Regions from separate parts of the Homo sapiens genome. Here regions 2 and 3 are each linked to region 1. Evidence: promoter capture Hi-C in 16 types of primary human blood cells and fetal thymus (Javierre and others, 2016). All regions are on one chromosome and are shown on one strand. Each heading gives the region's core, a stretch centred on a gene start or on the middle of the fragment in contact. The rest is flanking DNA. Distances are from core to core; before and after follow the strand shown.

Evidence for each region. The method cuts DNA at HindIII sites, captures the fragments that hold promoters and counts their contacts. A CHiCAGO score of 5 or more calls a contact.
Region 2: a fragment that was not itself captured here is called in contact with the fragment with the promoter of HACD4 in region 1 in 1 of 17 cell types (megakaryocytes); the score reaches 5.5 in megakaryocytes.
Region 3: a contact is called between a fragment that was not itself captured here and the fragment with the promoter of HACD4 in region 1, in 3 of 17 cell types (neutrophils, monocytes and megakaryocytes). The highest score is 7.0, in neutrophils.

What each region holds. Positions count from the first base shown.
Region 1 is chr9:21,029,015-21,033,596 of GRCh38, reverse strand. HACD4 (3-hydroxyacyl-CoA dehydratase 4) reads left to right here and starts at 1,957. Exons shown (of 7, transcript NM_001010915.5): 1 at 1,957-2,044; 2 at 4,199-4,302. The coding sequence starts at 2,007. LOC105375989 (a long non-coding RNA gene) reads right to left here and starts at 1,955. Exons shown (of 3, transcript XR_007061435.1): 1 at 1,597-1,955; 2 at 946-1,125; 3 at 1-234. RefSeq lists an enhancer at 1,618-2,178 and a silencer at 1,822-2,181. The HindIII fragment of the contact is 3,612 bases long and covers 1,576-4,582 here.
Region 2 is chr9:21,116,777-21,121,358 of GRCh38, reverse strand. No RefSeq gene overlaps it. Among named protein-coding and RNA genes, the nearest start is that of IFNW1, 23 kb to the left of the region's middle. RefSeq lists an enhancer at 2,109-2,368. The HindIII fragment of the contact is 962 bases long and covers 2,248-3,209 here.
Region 3 is chr9:21,100,196-21,104,777 of GRCh38, reverse strand. No RefSeq gene overlaps it. Among named protein-coding and RNA genes, the nearest start is that of IFNB1, 25 kb to the right of the region's middle. The HindIII fragment of the contact is 5,655 bases long and covers 1-4,582 here.

The DNA.
Region 1 (4,582 bases), core at 708-3,207:
CCATCCAGAGAGACAGAAGGGACATAAGGCAAGAGACGTAGAATATGTAGAACTTCAGGGGTAAATGGCAGACAGACAGAACTGGTAAAATGCAGCAGACCTGTCAATGAGGATGTGGATGCAGGGGCTGTGTTTGGTGACAAAGGATCAATTCTTCTGGGCAGGCTTTCCACCTTCTCCCTCCTGCCCCACTGCAGGCCATCTGGGACTTTACTTTCTCTCTTGCTGCTTAACCTGATCAGAGATAGCATTGATAATGGGTTAGCCACCAGTTTACCCTTTAGATCAAATGTTCTGTAAAAGCAAGGACCGTGGGGCATCATCCTGCAAGGTGATACAGGATAGGGATTCGGCGAAAAATTAACATGCTCGCGGACGGAGCAGTGTCAGGAGAGTCAAACTGTAAGGTATTATGGAACAGGAAGATGGTAGGAAATGAAAGAAGCACCTGATCAGAGAAGGCAGGCAGGGAGTTATTAGAAGATTCCATTGAGAGAGAAACAGAAAGAATACAATGTTTAATTATATGCTAAGAGAGAGTTGTCTATGTCCCTAAAGTGCAGTGAAAGCCAATGGAAAGGAGGGGATGACGATGCAAGAAGAGGCGATGGTTAACTACTGATGCAGTGAGTCTGAGAAGGGACTGGTAAACACAAAGTTGGGGTTAACCTCCGACTGAGGGCAGGGTATGAGAGAAGGTGCAGAGAAATGTAGAGGTGAGAGGTAGGCATAGTGAATGGAATGGACTATGAAAAAAGGAAGCCACGGCCTAATGGGAAACAAACAAGAAATCCCACCAACCTTGAAGTTCTGATACTGCCATTTTATCAATTGTGTGACCTGTGCCAAGTGACTTAACATTTTTTTAATGCCTCAACTTCCCTTTTGGTAAAAATGGGGGCGCTAACTTCCAACTCCAAAACCAGGTGCCATTGTCCCACTTACTTGCAAGTGCCTTCTTAGATGTTTCTGTTTTTGTTTTAACGTTTCCCTTTCTGGGCAGAGGAGCTTGAAGATGGGCTGGATCTTATTAGCAAAGCAGGAGGGTGGGTCATCTGTGTACGGAGACAGTGATGTCATAAGCCTGAGAGATCACGAAGGGGTTGTAGCAGTGCTGGGCATAGGCTAGAGAAATTAACACAACGTGAATAAAGATTTGCAGGCACCAGTGAGAACCCAAGGGAGATTAGAGAGCAGGGAGGCCTGATAGAAGAGGAATCAGGCCCCTAGCTGAAAAAGTGTTGGGGAGGTGTGCTACAAACTTCGTTTTATTTTTATTTATTTTTTGAGACAGGATCTCGCTCTGTTACCCAGGCTGGAGTGTAGCCGCGTGATCTTGGCTCATTGCAGCCTCGACCTCCCAGGCTCAAGCGATCCTCCCACCTCAGCCTCTGGAGTAGCTGGGACCACAGGCCCGCGTCACCATGCCCGACTAATTTTTGTACATTTAGTAGAGACGCGTTTTCGCTATGTTGCCCAGGCTGGTCTCGAACTCCTGGGCTCAAAAGATCCTCCCGCCTCGGCCTCCCAAAGTGCTGGGATTATAGGCATTAGCCACTGCGCCCGGCACAAGCTTCGTGTCTGAACCTGGCTCACCGGTGGGCATTGAGCAGAGCCCACCCTGGAATCCACTCATCTCGGGAGGTTTGGGGATGGGCTTCAGCGAGTTCGGAGGCCCCGGAAATCGCCCAGATGCATTAATTTCCAGAAGGCTTGCAAGGGGGTCTCAACACAAAGATTAGGAAGCTGTAACCAGAGTTTGGTAACCCCACCGGGAACGCGAGCCGCCTCCCAGCCTTGCGCCCTGACGCGCTCTAGCAGTGCTGCAGAAACTTCGAGAACTTCGTTTTCATCTCTTCCCCAACGCACGACCTCGGGCTTTTTCTTTTTGTAAACTGCTGAGTGTGGAGAGGCCCCGCCCTTCCGCGCCCAGCCGCGGGGCCGCCCCTGCCTCCTCCCCGGTACTCCTTCCTGGACCGCGCTGGAAGCCCTGGCGGCGGCGGCCCATGGGGCCCTTGGCGCTGCCCGCCTGGCTGCAGCCCAGGTAGGGCGCTCGGCCGAATCCCGAGGGGAGGGGGCGCGGGTGGAGGGCCTGGAGGCGGGAGCTCCCCTCTGCGGCGGGCGGGCGGGCGGCACCCCCCGCCCGCCAGCAAGGCGCAGCGCTACCGTGCCCAGGCACCCCTTGGAGCTCATGCAGGTATTTGCTAACTTACCCCTCTTGACCACCCTAGGAAGCAGGCTCTGTTATTTTCTCCATTTTACAGTTGAATGGGAAGGACAGGCTGCATGGCTACCCCTGCCCTTGTGAGCCCTCTGCCAGTACTTCCCTCCCCCCAGGAGCCTTCTCTTGACTTTCTCAGACGCAGAGTTGCGGGGTGATTTTTAGATGTAACAGCCGTGGAAACACCTATCACACGTATAGATTTCAGGGCCTAGTTCCGGCGGGGAACAGATTCAGTCATATAGCGGTAGGGCCTGGGGGTGTATATGTTTAACCCACAAGCCAGGTAATTCTGATACAAGCTGAAGGAGGATTTCCTCTTCCCAAACCCTTTAGCAGTTCCTGCCTTTATAGGGGAGGATGTCCCCAAATAAAAATCATTCTGCCTCCCAGCTTATTTTCCTTGTTTCTAGGAGGTTTCACATCTTCAAGGAGGAGTAAATCTTGACCACACTGGCAGGGCCACTCCCGTCACTCTTCTGAACTCCCAGGGAACATTTCAAACAGTGCTTTTCCTAACTCCCTCAAACCATCTATCTGTCAATCTTCTCTTAGTCATCTCCCCAGCAACTCACAACACATTGTTAAACCCAGCTTGACTTCCCTCTTCTGGTATGAGCAACTAAACTGCTTTCGATATGTATCTGATGAAGGAAACTATCTACCCTTGCAAAATGTTAATAGGCAGTGGCAAGATGTTAATACTAACCTCAATCACATAATGTGTTCAAAAGTCAGGTGTGTCCAATTACTGAATTACCCAACATTTGGATTACTCCCATCCCTACCCCCCTTCAGAACTAAAACACTGTGTCTCAAGTTCTGCACTTAGCAAGCTGAGCTACTGGAACACATAGTGACATGTCAACCACTCTGCACACATGGATTTTTTGTTGTTGTTGTTGTTTTGTTTTTTATTTTTTATTTATTTTTGAGAACAGAGTTTTGATCTGTCGCCCAGGCTGGAGTGCAGTGGCGCTGTCTCGGTTCACTGCAGCCTCTACCTCCCAGGTTCAAGTGATTGTCCTGCCTCAGCCTCCTGAGCAGCTAGGTAGCTGGGATTACAGGCATACGTTACCACATCCGGCTTTTTTTTTTTTTTTTTTGTAAGTTGCCATGTTGGCCAGGCTGGTCTTGAACTTCTGGCCTCAAGTGATCCAACCCGCCTTGGCCTCCCAAAGTGCTGGGATTACATGCCTGAGCCACCGCGCCCAGCCTGTTTTGTTTTTTTAAAGAATATTCAAAGCCACCTTCGCAGTGGTTTCTTTTATTCCTTGGTGAGCAGCAAGGTTAGAACTTTATCAAAGATGAAAGCAGATTTTGAAAAAGCACTATATTTGGTTTTAAGCAAACTCACTATACAGATGGTCCATGACTCACAATTTTTTAAACTTTGTGATGGTGTGAAAATGATATGTATTCATTAGAAACCGTACTTCAAATTTTGGATTTTAATCTTTCCCCAGGCTAGCGATGTGCAGGTATGATATCCTTTCATGATGCTGGGCCGCGGCATCAGGCCGCAGCTCCCAGTCGGCCGCATGATCAGGAAGGTAAACAACCGGTACTCCACAGTGCACTGTGTTGCCAGATGATTCCACCCAACTGTAAGCTAATGTAGGTGTTCTGAGCAAGTTTAAGGTAGACTAGGCTAAGCTGTGATGTTCTGTAGATCAGTTGTATTACATGCATTTTCAACTTATGATATTTTCAGTTTATGATATTTTCAGCTGATGGGGTGTACCAGGACGTAACTTCATCATAAGTGAAGAAGCATCTGTATTTACTTTAGCGGGTAGTGTAGGTTATGGCTCCCTTCAAAATCTGATATGTACTTGGGGGTAACCAGATAAAAGACTGATATGAAACAGTTTTCTTTTGCTTTCTCAGGTTGGCCAGTACATTAAAGGGCATGTGTACAGTGATGAAAGGATGATTATAAAAGAAGTGTTTAATGGTATTTTCCTGTATTTATAGGTATAGGAAGAATGCGTATCTTTTCATCTATTACTTAATCCAGTTCTGTGGCCACTCTTGGATATTTACAAATATGACAGTCAGATTCTTTTCATTTGGAAAAGGTAAAACTCCGAAACAGTTTTTTTATTTTTAACTTTTAATCCTTGTTTTCACCTCATCCTGCTTATATTAAATTTCTACACACCTCAACCTTCTAATATCCTTCTCTAAAATTTGTATTTTTTAGCAACCATGTTTATTGCAAAACCTTCTTGGGGAAGGGGGAAGGTGGGATAAGTAAGGGAAAGGGATTTGGCTTCCCCCTGAGTTGGCAGTTTGCCTCAAAAAAGAGATGGATGGCACTGAGGTGGTATCATTTCATTGTTCCTTTTCCATTCTGTA
Region 2 (4,582 bases), core at 1,479-3,978, 87 kb before region 1:
TGCTGTCTCCTGCTCACCCTCATTCAGTCCCTGAAGCTGCTTCTTCCCACTGTGGGCTCTCTCTATAACCACAAGCCAACAGCTTGTTGGGTAGGGAATCCACCTTCAGACCTCAAACCTGGTGTGAAGAGGCAGAGCATGCCATCTATGTGCCACTGCTGTCAGACATTTCTCTGTTCCTTTTCCTTTTCCCACATCCTGGATATCTTGTCATAGTCAAAAGTCTTTGACTAGATCCATTCCTCAGTTTCTCTTCTGTCACCTTGGAACCCAGGAGGAACTAGGCCACTTCACTGGGCAGGGGGGATGCGGGGGAGCTCTGCCTAACTCATGTTAATATCAGGGTTCCCGACATGCTACCCCAAAATAATGGCACCTTGAAAATTCAGAAAACTGCAGACTCAAGGTCATTCTCTGACCTTGTCTAACCTTTCTGTGTGAAAGTTGGCCATAAAATAATGCTTTGTCCTATCTCCCCTGAAAGTAGGTCGCAAGACCCCCATGTGACAGGTGTCCTTCCCTGCTTCTGGAGGAAAGGAATAAAGACACAGAGACACCAAGAATAATCTGAACAAGTAGGCCTTGCTAAGTCCCCCCTCAGTTTATTAACAATACTTCATATCCCCTTTTTGTCCAATATGCTTTTACATGACTGTCCATTTTTCAATAAACCTAAGCGTAAAAATAGACAGTTTCCCTGGGTCTTTGGATCTTCATTTCTAAATCGTCTTGTCTCTCATAAAAAAAATTGTTTCTAAAATTAGTTATGGTTTTCTCTTGTTAATCTTCTTTTATTATAGGGGTATTAGCCATGAACCTTGTAATGGGTGAGAAAAAGACACTACTTTTTCTTTCTCACAATAATGACCCTTCTCCTTTATGCAAACACAACCAGAGGGTCCTACACTCTTCACCGCCAGCCACAGTTAGAATGCTCTCATCAATGGATTGATGGCCCAGGGATACACAAGGGCTGTGCTGAGGCTCAGAAAACAATACCCCAAAATGACGGCCACAGAAGCAGCCTCAGAAGCAAAACTTTCTCTGACTTCCTCCTGCCCCTCTCTCTTTGACCCTTATTCTCTAGAATCTCTCTTCCCAAGGCAGGCCATAGAAACCAGAAATCCTTTCCCCAATGACAACCATAAAACCTAATCATATTAATTCAACCTTCTCCTTGTCTTTCTGCATAAAAACTGGCCATAAAGAAATTATTTTACCTGTTTTATCTAAAAGTAGATTATAACTCCATTCAGAGAGGGCCCTGCCCCATTCCCAGAGTAAGGAATGTTGCACAAAAAAGCCCAGAAGAATCTAGACAGACAGGCCTTGCTAGGCTTCCTCACTCAGTCTATTAGCATTAGATCATGCCCTTTTTATCCAGTCATTTTTCTACATAGCTGTCCAATTCTTCATTAACCTAAGCATAGAAATGGTGTCTTTGGCCCTTCAATCTGAAGGCTCCCATGACACATAAAACTATGATAAAATTAATTTGTATGCCTTTTCACCTATTAATCTATCTGCCTTTTGTCAATTGATTTTCACGGAACCTTCAGAGGTCAAAGGGCAAGATTTCCCCTGGCCCCTACAGCTGCCCACCCAACATCTTCTACCAGGTGCTACCTGGACTCCCTCTGCGAGAAACTCCACATTGGCTCTATCCAATACAGACTTCAGTGAGCCTCCAGCCTGGGTTTACTTTTCTCTTTCGGTATCAAGCACTTGTCTGAGCTGGACGTATTTAATCCTCACAACCACTCTCAGGCATAAATGCAGCCAGGCCTAGAGTTAAGAAGAGAATACACAGACAACACACAGCAGCTGCTGAATAAGCACCAGCTCCATTCCCTCCACAAACAGGTGAACATGTCTATTATCGGTTTTCTGCAGGAGCTTCCTGTCTCTGAAGCAGTTTCTGGCACTTCTTTAAAGTTAAACCAAAAACCCTTCATACCATTAAAACTTACAACTAAATGCAGTTTTATTTCATCATAGATAAACAGGGACTGTACAATGACTGCACAGGGACTGTACAGTGAACCGGATGGTGCAAAAATAACAATAAGAATGATGCAACAAGTGAAAAGGGAACTAAATGTGAGTTGACAAATTGGATTTGAAGAATGGAGCGGGGATTCCTCTCTTGCCTGGCACGTGCCTGAGGAGAGTGCAGCTTATCTTCACAGAGCACAGGATCCTTTTTCTGGCTTCCTGAAAGATGCCTGTGTTATTCTGGTGAAAGCTTTTAGCTCCTCAAATGGTAGACAGAACCAAGAAACCAGGAAAGTAAAGTGTGCCATTGTAGACAGCTGGTGTGTGTGTGCCAGGTAGCAGTGCTTCTGTCTATACCCTGGGATCTTTGCTGCAACATGCTTGCTTCAGTCACCAAGTGAATGGCTATTTCTGCCTCTCCATTGTGAGTAGTTGAGCTGGCATTAAAATGTTCCCTGGCCAGTTTTCTTGAAATTAACTCACTTTCCTGCAGAACTAGCACATTAGGGAATAATCCTCCAATCAGTTTCAAATAGGAGAGCTAACGTTTAAGTACCCTTAGTTAAGTGCCAGGAATCATTCTGAGTGTGTTATATAAATTAAACAATTAATCCTTGCCACAATTTTACGAGGTAGGACTATGGTTATCTTAATTTTACAGGTAAAGGAACTGGGCACACAGAGTTCTATTTCCTTTTCCTGTGTTAAGACATCCAAAAATAGTATTCTGCTCCTTGAAATAAAAAATATGATATGGAATATGAAAGGAAAATCTTCAGGGAAATAGCATAAATAAAAAACAATCACAACTTCTGGAAATCAAGGACACACTTAGAGAAATGCAGTTTTAGCAATAGAATTGAACAAGCAACAGAAAGAACTTCAGAGCTCTAAGACAAGGTTTTTGAAGTAACCCAATCCAACTAAGGCAAATAAATAAGAATTTTAAAAAAGAACAAAGTTTCCAAGAAGTTTGGTATTATGTTAAATGACCAAACCTTAGAATAATTGGTGTTCTTGAGGAAGAAGAGAAATCTAAAAGTTTGGAAAACATATTTGAAAATACAGTTGAGGAAAACTTCCCTGACCTTGGTAGAAACCTAGACATCCAAATACAAGAAGCTCAAAGAACACCTGACAAATTCATCTCAAAAAGATCATCATCTAGGCTCATAGTCACCAGGTTATCTAAAGTCAAGATGAAGAAAGAAGCTTAAGAGCTGTGAGGCAAAAGCATCAAGTAACCTGTAAAGAAGAAACCTATGAGAGTAACGACAGATTTCCCAGCAGAAACTCTACAAGCTAGAAGGGATTGGGGTCATATTTTAAGCCTCCTTAAAAAAAAAACAACTATCAGCCAAGAATTTTGTATCCACCAAAACTAAACTTCATCAATGAAGGAAAGATAGTCTTTTCCACATAAACAAATGCTGAGAGAATTCACCACTACTAAGCCAGCACTACAAGATCTGCTAAAAAGAGCTCTAAATCTTGAAACAAATCCTTGAAACACCAAGCTAAAACCTCCTTAAAGCATAAATCTCACAGGAACTATATAACAGTAACACAATGAAAAAAAAAGGTATTTAAGCGACAAACAGGCTGATGAATAGAATAGTCCCTTACACCTCAGTACTAATATTAGAATGGCAAAATGGATAGGAATTCACCAATCAAGTTTCTGCTGTCTTCAGGAGATTCACCTAACACATAAGGACTCACATAAACTTCAGGTAAAGGGGTGGAAAAAGATATTCCGTGCAAATAGACACCAAAAGTGAGCAGAAGTAGCTATTCTTACATCACACAAAACAAGCTTTAAAGCAACAGCAGATAAAAAAGACAAAAAGGGAAATTATATAATGGTAAAAAGACTAGTCCAACAGGAAAATATCAGAATCCTAAATATATATGCACCTAAAACTAGAGTTCCCAAATTTATAAAACAATTACTACTAGACCTAAGAAATGAGATAAATGACAACACAATAATAGTGGGGGACTTTAATACTCCACTGACAGCACAAGACAGGTCACCAAGACAGAAAGTCAACAAAGAAAAAATGGACTTAAACTATAGCCTAGAATAAATGGACTTAACAGATATTTATAGAATACAGGATAGAATGCTATCCAACAACTGCAGAATATACATTCTTTTCATCAGCACATGGAACATTCTCCAAGATAGACCATATGATAAGTCATAAAACAAGTCTCAGTAAATTTAAGAAAATTGAGATTACATCAAGTACTCTATCGGACCATAGTGGAATAAAATTAGAAATCAACAGCAAAAGGTACCCTCAAAACCATGCAAATACATGCAAATTAAATAACCTGCTCCTGTATTATCATTGGGACAACCATGAAATCAAGATGGAAATTTAAAAATTTTTTGAACTGAATGATAATAGTGACACAACCTATCAAAACTTCCGGGATACAGCAAAAGTGGTGCTAAGAGGAAAGTTCGTAGCATTAAATGCCTACATCAAAATGTCTGAAAGAGCACAAATAGACAATCTAAGGTCACACCTCATGGAACTGGAGAAACAAGAACAATCCAAACCCAAACCCAGCAGAA
Region 3 (4,582 bases), core at 1,213-3,712, 71 kb before region 1:
GTGTATTTACTTTTTTTCACTATACACAGTGATTATCAGACTGCAAACAGTTAGCCACACCAACCACACTCCAAAGAGACTGGGTCATACACTGCGTGGCCATTTAATTCATGTTTGAGAGGTCAACTTTCCCATGAGCTAATAGGTGTTAGTCATTTGGAAGGGGCACTCTCTCCATTTACATGCTCATGTTCACAGTAAGAGGTGAAATTACAATAACAACGTTTATCAATGACCTGAGAATTAAAGGAAGAAAAGCAGATCTTTCCCAGGAAATTTCCACTCAATTTCCATAGTTGGGGTTGCATTCATTTTCTCCATTGTGGGAATGGCTAACACGTGCCAAGTGCTTATTTTATTCAGGCATTGTACTAAATACATAATATCATCCAATTCAATTTCTTTCATCAATGTTTCATAGTTTTATTGTAGATATCATTCACTTATGGTTAAATTTATTTTTAGGTATTTTATTTTATCTTATTTGTGTCTCTTGTTAATGGTATTACTTTCTTGGTTTCTTCTTCAGATTGTTTGCTGTTGGCATATGGAAATGCTACTGATTTTTAAAATTTTTTAAATTTTGGGGGGTACATAGTAGGTGTATCTATTTATAGAGTACATGAGCTACTTTAATACAGGTATGCAATGCATAATAATCACATCCTGGTAAATGAGATATCCATCCCCTCAAGCATGTATCCTTTGTGTTACAAAGAATCCAATTATACTATTTTAGTTATTCTAAAATGTACAATTAAATTATTATTGACTATATTCACCCCTTTGTGCTATCAAATACTAGGACTTCTTCATTCTTTCTAACTACTTTTTGTACCCATTAACCATTCCTACTTGTCCCCCAGTCCCCCATTACCCTTCCTAGCCTCTGGTAACCATCCTTCTATTTCTATATCCATGAGTTCAATTGTTTTAATTTTAAGCTCCCACAAAATAAGTGAGAACATGTGAAGGTTGTCTTTCACTTTACATAATACCTCCAGTTACATCCATGTAGTGACAAATGACAGAATCTCATTATTCTTTATGGCTGAATAGCACTCCATTGTGTATATATACCATATTTGCCTCATGCATTCATCTGTTGATGGGCAGTCAGGTTGCATTCAAATCTTGGCTATTGCAAATAGTGCTGCAACAAACATGGGAGTGCAGCTATCCCTTTGATATACTGATTCCCTTTCTTTTGGGTGCCTACCCAGCAGCGGGATTACTGGGTTATCCCACTCTATTTTTAGTTTTTTGCGGAACCTCCAAACTGTTTTCCATAGTGGTTGTACTAGTTTACATTTGCACCAACAGTGTACAAGAGTTTCCTTTTCTACATGTCTTACCAACATTTGTTATTGCCTGTCTTTTGGATAAAAGCCATTTTCAAGAAATGCTGATTTTTGTAAGTTCATTTTGTATCCTGCAACTTTACCAAATTTGTTTATCAGTCCTAATAGTATTTTTGGTGAAATATTTAGCTTTTTCTGGAAAAGGATAATTTGTCTTCTTCCCTGCCAATCTGGATGCCTTTTGTTTCTTTGTCTTGTCTAATTTCTCTGGCTGGGACTTCTAGTACAATGTTGAATAAAAGCGATGAAAGTGGTTGGGCTCTATGGCTCATGCCTGTAATCCTGGCACTCTGGGGAGCCAAGAGGGGTGGATCACCTGAAGTCAGGAGTTAGAGACCAGCCTGGCCAACATGGCAAAACCCTGTCTCTACTAAAAGTACAAAAATTTAGCCAGGCATGGTGGTGGGCACGTGTAACTCCAGCTACTTGGGAGGCTGAGGCAGGAGAATTGCTCGAACCCGGGAGGCGGAGGTTGCAGTGAGCTGAGATTGTGCCATTGCACTCCAGCCTAGGCAAGAGATTGGGACTCTGTCCCAAAGAAAAAAAGTGGTGAAAGTGTGCATCCTTGACTTGTTCTAGACCTTAGAGAAAGGCTTTGAATTTTCCCATTCAGAATGATACTAGCTGTAGGTTTGTCTTATATGGCGTTTATGGTGTTTAGGTATGTTCCTTCTATACCTAGGTTTTTTAGAGCTTTTATTATGAATGAATGTTGAATTTCATCAGATGCTTTTTGAGCATCAATTGAAATGATCATAAGGTTTTTGTCCTTCATCTTCATGACAACCTATCAAAATATGTGTGGTTATCATTTACATGTAGCGGAGGATAATAAGGTGCCCAAGGTTACAACATGGAGCAGGCTGAGGCTATGACAAGAACCCCAGCAGTCCAGCCACAGAGTCTCCATGGTAACCATTAGACTGCCCTTCTGACTAATACATTACATTCCTGTTCTCATTTTCCTTAGTTACCAAAAGGCACCATTCTCTTATTCCAGAGGCACTATAATACACTTGAATAGGATGCAGATAACTTTCCAGTTTCTAGTTCTAGCCCTGCCTTTCAAATGATAGGTTTTGTTGAGTTCAGCTGGATCTTTCAAACTTTCTATTCTCATCTCACATATTTTTAGGCATTATCCAGCTCTTTCTGGCTCTTTTGTACTTGCCCTATACACAGTGTGCAGATTTCAATCATGCTATGGTGCAGCAAGAACACTCTCACCAGATGCTGGTTGTGTATTGTTGGAGCTCCCAGACTCCAGAACTGTGAGCTAAATAAACTTCTTTTCTTTATACATTACCCACTCTGTGGTGGTCTGTTATAGGAACAGAAAACAAAGACCACTAGCCATGAACAATTCAAAAAAATTAAAATAAATATTCCATTTATAATAACATCAAAAAGAATATAATACTTGGCAATAAATTTAACAAAGGATATGTAAGAGTTGTCCACTGAAAACTGCAAATATTGCCGAACTAAATTAAAGAAGACCTATATAAATGGAAAGGCCTTCCATGTTCATGAAGTGGAAGACTTAATATTGTTTAGATGCCAATATTCCCCCAGAGTAATCTATAGATTTCATGCAATTTTGATTCAAATACCAATGGCTGGTTTTGCAGAAATTAAAAATCCAATACTAAAATTTATATGAAATTGCAAGAGACTCTGGATACCCAAAATAAATCTTTTTTTTTTTTCCTTTTTCAAAACAGAGTCTTGCTCTGTCACCCAGGCTGAAGTGCAATGGCACAATCTCAGCTCACTGCAACCTCCACCTCCTGGGCTCAAGGAATCTTGAAAATATAAGGGCAAATTTGGGGGGGCTCACCCTTCCTTGATTTGAAAATATATTACAAACTAGTGTAATCAAAACAGTGTGGTACTTGCATAAAGGTAGACATATAGACCAATGCAATAGAACTGAGTGTCCAGAAATAAACCCATATGTTTATAGTCAATTGATTTTCAACCAGGGTACGAGGACCACTCAATGTGGAAAGAACAATACCCAGTTGCCCTAGCAACTGGATATTCACATGCAAAATAATGAAATTGTACCCCAACTTCACATCATATAAAAAATATTTCAAATATATCAAATACCTAAATGTAAGAGCAAAGCCTTAGAAGAAAATGTAGAGATTAATCTTTATGATTTGGATTTGCCAATGAATCCTTAGATAAGATAGGAAAGGCATAAGCAACAAAAGAAAACAGATAAATTGGACTTCATCAACATTTAAAACTATTGTGCTCAAAAGACACTATCAAGAAAGTGAAAAGGCAACCTATAGAATGGAAGAAACTATTTGCAAATCTTATATCTTAGAAAGGACTAGTATTCAGAATATATAAATAACTTTTACAACTCAACCAAAACAGACATCCAATTATAAAATCTGCAAATAACTTGAATAGCCATTTCTCCAAATAAGATACACAATGGACAACAAGAACATGAAAAGTTGTTCAACATCATTAGTCACTGAGGAAATGCAAATCAAAACCACAAAAACATATCACCTCTCACCCATTAAGATGGCAATGATAAAAAAAGAAAAAGAAGAAAGAAAAAAATAACGTTTTGATGTGGAGAAATAGGATCTCTTGTGGGCTGCTTTTGGGAATGTAAAATGATGCAGGAGTTATGAAAAACAGTACGGTGGTTCCTCAAAAATTAAAAATTGAATTATTATATATCCAGCAATTCCACTACTAAGTATATATCCAAAGCAAAAGTACTCACAGTAGTCAAAAGATAGAAGTAACCCAAATGCCTATGGACGGATGAATGGATTTTTAAAAAATGTGGTCAATACATATCATGGAATATTATTCAGTCTAAAAAAAAGAAGGAAATTGTGACACATGCTGCAAGAGGATTCTGGAGCACCGTACACTAACTGAAATAAGCCCATCACACATATAAACAAATAGTATATGACCACTTATTATCAGGTATCTAGAATAGTCACATTTATAGATACAGAAAGTGTAGGATTTTGGGAAAGGGAGAAACAGTGAGTTGTTAATAAGTATAGGGTTTAAATTTTGCAAGACGAAAAGAGTTCTGGAGACTATTTTCACTACAATGTGAATATAGCACTACTGAACTGCACCCTTTAAAAGTATCTAAGGTGATACATTTTATGTTATGAGCATTTTACTTTAATTAAAATTTTAAAGCATGGTGGCTCATGCCTATAATT